2 separate regions of the Homo sapiens genome follow, and region 1 is linked to region 2. The links are contacts of gene promoters, found by promoter capture Hi-C in blood cells and fetal thymus (Javierre and others, 2016). All regions are on one chromosome and are shown on one strand. The core of a region is centred on a gene start or on the middle of the fragment in contact, and the rest is flanking DNA. Distances in the headings are between cores, read along the strand shown. Region 1 overlaps TCF7L1 (transcription factor 7 like 1). Region 2 holds the start of TMSB10 (thymosin beta 10).

Region 1 (4,054 bases), core at 11-2,510, 370 kb before region 2:
GGGCGAGCACTTGGCCAGGCGGGCTGTTTCTGCTCAACGTGGATCTCGGGAAGGGTCCCTCTGAAGGATGCTGTCACTAGAGAGCTAGAGCCCCCTTTCCTGCAGGAAGGCGGAGAATCCATCCTACAGAATCCTTGCTTTGATTGGAGCCATGGAGCAGATTAATTGCAGCTGTGCCCTGGAATTTCCCCAACACACAAATCTTCGTGATGTAAAACAGCTGGGAGGAAATCCCAGCATGCCCTGTACAGAGGCAGGACTGCCAATGAGCTACGGAGATTAACCCTCCGGCTCCCAGAAGGTAGGGAGGGCCCCGCCCCAGCCGTCCTCACCCTGTCCCACACTTGCTTAGTGTGGACAGGACTCTACAGGGCTCGGGGGAATGCCCACATTCTCCCTGTTCGCACGTTCTCACAGAAAAGCCTTTAAGCAGGGCCTGGGCAACAGAGGAAACAAAGCTTCATGTTACAGAATCCACAGCTCCCCACAGTTGCATGCAAGGAAAACAAGTCAGCTCCAAAAACTGCACAGGTGAGAAAACTCCAGCCCAGAGAACGCCTTCCGCTGCTTCTAGAGGAAAGGCCCAGTAGGCAGAGAAAGCGCCCCTTGCTCCAGCCCCATGGTCTCGCCCATTTTTGGCCACTTGCCCATCAGCAGACACAAAGGGTCCCAGTTTTGGTGACCGGTCCTTCCTGCCTCTCTGGACCCCTATGGTAAACAGTGACTTTGGGGACCTAGAGCCAGGATCCCCTTTGATAGAGAAGCAAGGGTTGCCCAGGCTTTTCGGGAGATGTAAAGTCCCAGTGCCACCCAGAACCCAAGGCTACACCCAAACTCCGGGTGCAGGTGGCTTCCCACCACAGTGACAATAACATTATTCAAAATGCTCTCCTTGTCCTCTTAGAAACTCTATGTAACAGGAACCTATACTATAACCGTACTATAAATGAAAAATGTGAAGAAGCGATCCGTGTCTCCCCGTCTCCATTCTGCCACAGTTGCAGTCGTTTCTTGCCTGGACTACTGCAAATCCTACCAGAGTCAGCCTTCTAAACACCAGTCACATCTCTCCCCTGCTCAGAACACTTCCCTGGTTGGTTTCTGGGGTCAAGAGATAAAGCCCCCAAACTCACCAGCAATCCCACACCACCCTATCCTTCTGGCTTCCACCCTCACCGCCCCCCACCCCAGCTGCACAGAGTCCTCACTGCACTCTGAACGCACCATGCTGCCCTGCTGCTCCCCGGCCTGCTACGGCCTTTACTGCATCCTTCACTCGTGGGAAACTTTAACCCCTCTTCTTCAAAACCCATTTCCTCCCAAGGTCACCCTCCCTGGCATGAAGCCTCCATGAGTCTGTCGCTCTCGAGAAGCGGTACACGGTGTTTCCATAGCACTCACCAGGCTACTCCTCCCCATTTGCACACTCTGTCTGCCCTTGGGACGGTAAGCTCCTCAAGGGTCATGCTGCACCTCAATTCCTCACCCAGAACCCGGCAATCATGATGTGTTGAAACCCTGTCCCATGCTGTATTAATGCCGTGAGCTTAGGCCCAGTTTCCACATCTGTAACGAGGGGTTGAACAGCCTCTGCCTGAAGCCTTTAGAGCAGGGGAGAGATGTGACTGGTGTTTAGAAGGCTGACTCTGGTAGGATTTGCCGTAGTCCAGGAAAGAAACGACTGCAACTGTGGCAGAATGGAGACGGGGAGACACGGATCGCTTCTTCACATTTTTCATTTATAATACGGTTATAGTATAGGTTCCTGTTACATAGAGCTTCTAAGAGGACAAGGAGAGCATTTTGAATAATGTCATTGTCACTGTGGTGGGAAGCCGCCACACAGGAGCCCATTTCACTCATGGGCAACGCCTGCTTCTCACAGTAACTGGCTTAGTCTGCCGAGAATACGTAAATGTAGCATGGAGGCTGGGATGCCCAACTTGGCCAGTTCTTGGAGACCTGTTTCTATCTTCTGTACTAAAGTTCACAAATGGATCTAAGTTTGAAAATACACTGACACTGAGCAATGAACTCAGGAATAGGGAGACAGAAAAGCTTTCCCAATTGGGAAAACATTTTTAGTTTTCAGCAGTCGGTAAGAGAAAACGAAAGTGTAAAGAACTTGTTCCCAAACAAGATGGATTAGACAAAGAGTTCCAGGGGCAAAAGTATAAAAGAAGTTTTACACTCTTATCCCTTCTTTCTTAAGAATGAGTCATTTATGCCTTTGCTTAACTTTGTGGATGGCACTAAATCCCAAACACATTTTTTGTTTTACCTGAGGGTAGGTTAGATTCTTTCTTGAGGTATTTTTTTTTTTTTTTTTTGAGATGGAGTCTCACTCTGTCGTCCAGGCTGGAGTGCAGTGGCGCAATCATAGATCACTGCAACCTCCACCTCCTGGGCTCAGGCAATCCTCCCATCTCAGCCTCTCAAGTAGCTGGGACCACAGGCATGTGCCACCATGCCTGGCTAATTTATTGTAGTTTTGGTAGAGACAGGATTTCACCATGTTGCCCTGGCTGGTCTCGAACTCCTGAGCTCAAGTGATCTGCCCGCCTTCACCTCCCAATTCTGCTGGCATTACAGGGGTGAGCCACCGCACCTGGCCTACACTGGTCTTAAACCAATGAAGTGACTTTGCTCTCTCTAGCACCTGTCACAGCATTTAGTCAACAAATGGCTTTAAAGCCCATGCACTGGTAGCAGAGGGGCTCCAAAAGCATTTCATAACTGAATAGTAAACTCAAAAGTAAGAGTGTGTCAATTAGGTGTCAGTTTCACCATAAACACCTCTTTCCTCTGCTTTCCCCAAATGATTCTTTCTTTTGTGGATGATCTCAAAACTATTCTCTTCCCCTCGCATTCCAAAGAACCTGGCAATTTTGCCTCCTAGATTTGACCTAAGGTTTGTTTTTAAAAACTGGCTCCCCCGCAGAAGCCAAGCTTTCGTTTTAGAGCACAGGAGGCAAGAGATCAGGGTTCCAGGCTCTTTCTAACCTTTCTGGACTCCATCGTCTCATCTTTAAAATGGGAATATTTTACTTCATCAGCCTGAAGCAGGGGCCTGGACTAGATGGTCTCCTTTGGAAGGAAAAATCAAATTCAGCTGTTTGTCTAAACACAGAGGGCACTGGGAGTGCCGACCGTGTTGAGGTGTTCAACAAATACGGAATCAGGGGTCCTAGCTGAACCCCACTTACAAGCTGTGTGCCTGTGTACATCACCTTTCAGAACCTCTGGTTTCCACATGTAAAATAGGAATAAGAACACCTACTGCCTGGCAGAGTGATTATCTCACGTGTGGCTGTCACACTCAAGTGTGAGTGTCCTCTCACACTGGAGAGGACCAGGCAGAGTGTGGGGCATGCGGGGAGCTTGTAAGAAATCTGTGTTCAGTCACTAAATGTGTAAGTTATTGGTATTCTAGGAGCCTGTGACCTGCGCTTTACCTGGGGAGACAGGTCTGGTTCGGTGGTGTGTTGGTAAATGCCTAACAACTGGCTCTCTAAGCAAAAAACAAAGTGAAAAACCAAAGCATTTGCTGGTATTCATGGTGTAAACACTCCCGCTGATTTCAAGGTACCACGATGAGTCACTGAAGGCTCAGCGCGGAAGAGATGCTACCAATTGGCTGGGTGCCAGCTGGCTCAGGCACACCAATGACCGTGGGCAAGAGCTGGGTTGGAGGGGTGGTCTCAGATGTGTCCTGACTTGCTGGGATGGCTGGAAAGCTGAGACACACATGGTTCTCAGCTGACGTGGGCCTGCTTGAGGTCTTGATGGAGAGCCGGACACTTGGCTAGGTATGTCCCCCGACAGCTGCATGCTCTGGAGGAGGGAAAACTCTGCTCCCAGAGCACTAGGCACAGCCATTCTGTGGTGGCCCTGACCAGGGGGACCCCGGGACAGAGCCCTAGGCTTTCAAACAATGTCAAAGTTCAACTTGCTTTCGAGTCCGCATTTCTGCAGCCTGGAGCGCTGGGCCTGCTGAGTCGCAAGCTGCCTCTCCCATCGGCTGTGACCTTGGGTTTGCTGGGCCTGGGCAGTG
Region 2 (3,890 bases), core at 469-2,968:
TTTGAGGTGTCATCCCTTGGAGCTTGGCCGCCAGCGCCAGCGCCAGCCCACCCTTCCTCCCTCCCACCACATCCCCACCCTTCCTGCTGAGCACTGGGTGGTAGCAGATCAGTCTAGCACTTCCTCTAATGGCTAATGTTTTTGTGGGAGGTTCTGAACTAGGGTTAAAAGACAAAAGCTCTTCCCCCCTCCCCTCCCCCAGTTCTAGTGTTGGTTCTTCTAGTTCTGACGTTCCCGTTGCTGTATCCCTAGATCCCGCCTTTGTTTTAAGCTCCCGAAGAAAGGCTTCCGGAGACTTTGTGACCTCACCCAATTTCCAACATTCCAGATTGTCTTTTCTTTCTTTAAAATCAGTGTTCCCTTCTGAGTCAGCTAGGAGGAGGCCAGAGGGAAACAGTGGGGCTTTCGAAGCTTATCAAAAGCAAACCTTGCTCTTTTGAAAAAGCATTTTCCAACGCAACCTGGGGACAAAGTGGGGTTAAATTTTACACAGATTGCTTACGAGCAAGAGTTAAGTGGCTAACAAGTCATGAAATCTTACGGAGAAGCAGGTAAAGCCAAAATTAAAAACTCCCTCCGAGTCAGCCCATTCTGCGACCCACCTCCTCCCCTTTGCGGCAGGAACTCTACTCCATCGAGGGGCTTTGCTGCAGTGGCACTGCCCACGCATACTCAACTAAAAGACTCAGACCACGCCAGCCATGCCACGAGGTGTGTTTTATTTTCATTATTCATACAAATAATTTTCTATAATATCCCGGGGCAAACCGGAGAATTTGGCAGTCCGATTGGGGGGGGGTCCCTTCAGAGACCCACAGGCCGGTGGCATCGGCGCGGAGTGCCCAGGTTCACAGTGCAGCTTGTGGCTCGTGTCCATCTTGCAGGTGGCTCTTCCTCCACATCACGACTGGGGTCTCGAAGAGGACGGGGGTAGGAAATCCTCCAGGATCTTAGGAAATTTCACTCCGCTTCTCCTGCTCAATGGCTGTGGAGAGCGGGAAGCGGGCGCTGGAGGGGAGCTGCAACCCCCACCCGCAACCGAGGTGCTTCCCGGTGTGGGCGAGGCACCCACGAGGTGTGGGGATTTAGAAGGAAGCTTGGGGCTGGGGAGAAACAAGGCGCTTTGTGAAACTGAAAGAGTGGCCGGGGCCGCCCACACCGGGGACAACGGCGGGGTGGGGGGTGGAGGAGTGGGTTTGCAAGGAAGAGCAGGGTGAGGGGCTGGGCTGGGGCGCGGGAGACCGAGGCACACTCACTCTCTTTGGTCGGCAGGGTGTTCTTCTCCTGCGTCTCCGTTTTCTTCAGCTTGGCCTTATCGAAGCTGGCGATTTCCCCCATGTCTGGTTTGTCTGCCATTTTCTTAAAACAATCCTAGTGGGCAAACCAAGGCGCTTGACCTGGGCCTGGGGGCCAGCGTCCCCTTCCGCGCTCCCCGCCGACGCCTCTCGACGTGGCACTCGCGCCAAGGCGTGCCGAGCAGCCCCAAGGCCGAGGATCTGGGCGCGTCCCGCACCCCTCTTCTCGGTCCCAGGGCGTGGTCGCCGGCCCCTGCGTCCGGTCCGAGAAGGGCGCCTGTCGCGGTTGCGGCGCGCCCGCCCGGTGCACCGGATCCGACCACACCCTGGGTGGGCCCCCCGCCCCGGCGCCGCACTCACCGTGCAGTCTCGTTCCGAGCCCGAGATCCTGGTGCTCCCACTCGCGTTGCTGCAGCAAGAAACAAAAGAGCGGCGCCCGCCCCTAGCCTTATATACGCCGCGCCCCGCCCCGCCCCTCACCCGCCGCAGCAGGGGCGGTGCTGGCACCCGAGGGGCGGGAGCAGCGCGGGCTGCTCCTCGCCCTGCCGCGCCCCCCGCTGGGCTACCAGCCCGGCTGGGCGCGGCTTCTCCCGCGCCGGGCACCCCCAGCTCGCAGTGTGCCCAGCGTGGGGGCTGTAGTCGCCGCCAGAGTGGGCGCCAGGCCCCCGGCTTTGCTTTTGCGGCTACATTTCCCCCTTTCCGGGAATCTGCTGCTCACCCCGCAGAAAGGATATGGGACCGGCGTGGGAGGGTGTGTGGTTTTGTGCGTGTGCAGATATGATGTGTAGCCGTGGGTGTGGATGTGCGGGCGTGCACGCGCACTCTGCAGCAATCCTCGCTCTAGGAGACGCCCCACCCCAGTCGCCCCCAGGCCTCTTGCTTTTGCTCCTCCAGAGTCCCCTTCCCTCCCCCACTTTTCCTCTCCTTAGGGAGGCTGAGTCCTAAGGTGGTCCTGCACTAAAAGAATTCGAGCCGAGGGTCCCGTAGTGGAGCGGGGGGCGGGGGGGTGTAGGGGGAGGGGGGAATAGGTTTCCAGCGCTCTTTGCTCAGGTTGGGGGCGGTTGCCTTCTGGTCAGTCGTCCCCTGTTCCCTGAACTGGGCGGTTCCAGCAGGATCGTTGGCGTGGCGGGTGTTCCTTAAATGCTGTTAGACGCATTGTGTGAAGGGCTGTGGTGGGAACAGGGCGTCCCGAGAAGGCTCGCAGTTTGCCTTTTCTCGTCGAGCTCCTAGAAACACTGTATCAGCGGGTGCGGTTTTCCTCCTTGAAGTTAACCTTGAGGATAATAGAGACCCACATGCCTACAAACGTTCTTGTTTTTCTTATTAACCCATTGTAGGAGTGGTATACTGCAATTATTCACATCTTTCTTAGAAAAGTTGTATTTTCAGCCTGTGCAACACCGTTAGGTAATAAGTTCCATAAATTACCAGCCCCGGAGTTAAGGCTGGTCATTCTTTTATTTGTCCTGACCTTTCCTTTTTTAAGTGTGAAGTATTACCGAGCTCTTTAAAGTGGGATTTGGTGGTGACATCCTAAATTCGGTCCTGATTTTATTTATTTACTTTTTTTGAGACAGGGTCTCACTCTGTCACCCAGGCTGGAGTGCAGTGGTGTGATCACGGCTTATGGCAGCCTGGACTTCCCCGGTTCAAGTGATTCTTCCACCTCAGCCTCCTGAGCAGTTGGGACTGCGGGCGTGCACCACCACTAGCGGCAAATCTTTTGTGTTCTTTTTGTAGAGACGAGATTTCACCATGTTGCCCAGGCTGGTCTCGAACTTCTGGGCTCAAGCCATCTGCCTGCCTTAACCTCCCAAAGTGCTGGGATTACAAGCCTGAGCACCACTCCCTGCTTCTCCCCTCCTGATTTTACCTGCTTTTCTCACGTTCCTTCAGTTTGGAACAGTGGGAAGAGAGCATAGGCTTGTGTGACCTTGGGCAAATCTTTTCCTTAGTTTCTTCATCTATAAAATAGCCTTGGCATAAACTGAGGTGAGATAAAGAAGAGGCATAGAGTGGATACTTTTTCTTTCTTTTTTTTTTTTTAGCAGGGTCTCTGTGCAGCGGTGGGATCACAGGTCACTGCAGCTTTTTTTTTTTTTTTTTTTTCTTTTTTGAGACGGATCTCACTCTGTTGCCCCGGCTGGAGTGCAGTGGTGCAATCTCAGCTCACTGCAACCTCCGCCTCCCGGGTTCAAGCGATTCTTGTGCCTCAGCCTCCCAAGTAGCTGGTATTACAGGCACGTGCCACCATGTCCGGCTAATTTTTGTATTTTTAGTAGAGACGGGGTTTCACCATGTTGGCCAGGCTGGTCTCAAACTCCTGACCTCAAGTGATCTGCCCTCCTTGGCCTCCCAAAGAGCTGGGATTACAAGTGTGAACCGCTGTGCCTGGCCTCAAGTGGATACTTCAAATAGCAACCTCATTAGAATATCACACTTATATTTGATGAGTGCATTGGTTAACTTCTGCTGCAATATGCCATGTAACAAACCACCCAAAGCTTAGGAGTTTAAACAATGATTTATTCTTGTTCCTATATGGGCAGGTCAGATGGTGCTGGGCTGGGCCGGGCTGAGCTTGGCTCCAGACTT

What was found. The method cuts DNA at HindIII sites, captures the fragments that hold promoters and counts their contacts. A CHiCAGO score of 5 or more calls a contact.
Region 1: a fragment that was not itself captured here is called in contact with the fragment with the promoter of TMSB10 in region 2 in 1 of 17 cell types (M0 macrophages); the score reaches 5.3 in M0 macrophages.

Annotation. Positions count from the first base shown.
Region 1 is chr2:85,274,196-85,278,249 of GRCh38, reverse strand. The region is part of intron 3 of TCF7L1 (transcription factor 7 like 1); the gene reads right to left. Among named protein-coding and RNA genes, the nearest start is that of TGOLN2, 52 kb to the left of the region's middle. The HindIII fragment of the contact is 1,600 bases long and covers 461-2,060 here.
Region 2 is chr2:84,903,484-84,907,373 of GRCh38, reverse strand. TMSB10 (thymosin beta 10) reads right to left here and starts at 1,718. Exons shown (of 3, transcript NM_021103.4): 1 at 1,656-1,718; 2 at 1,257-1,371; 3 at 703-985. The coding sequence starts at 1,356. The coding sequence ends at 951. It overlaps LOC105374836 (a long non-coding RNA gene), which reads left to right and starts at 353. Exons shown (of 2, transcript XR_940308.3): 1 at 353-711. RefSeq lists enhancers at 392-451, 256-1,455 and a silencer at 1,422-1,961. The HindIII fragment of the contact is 2,703 bases long and covers 1,099-3,801 here.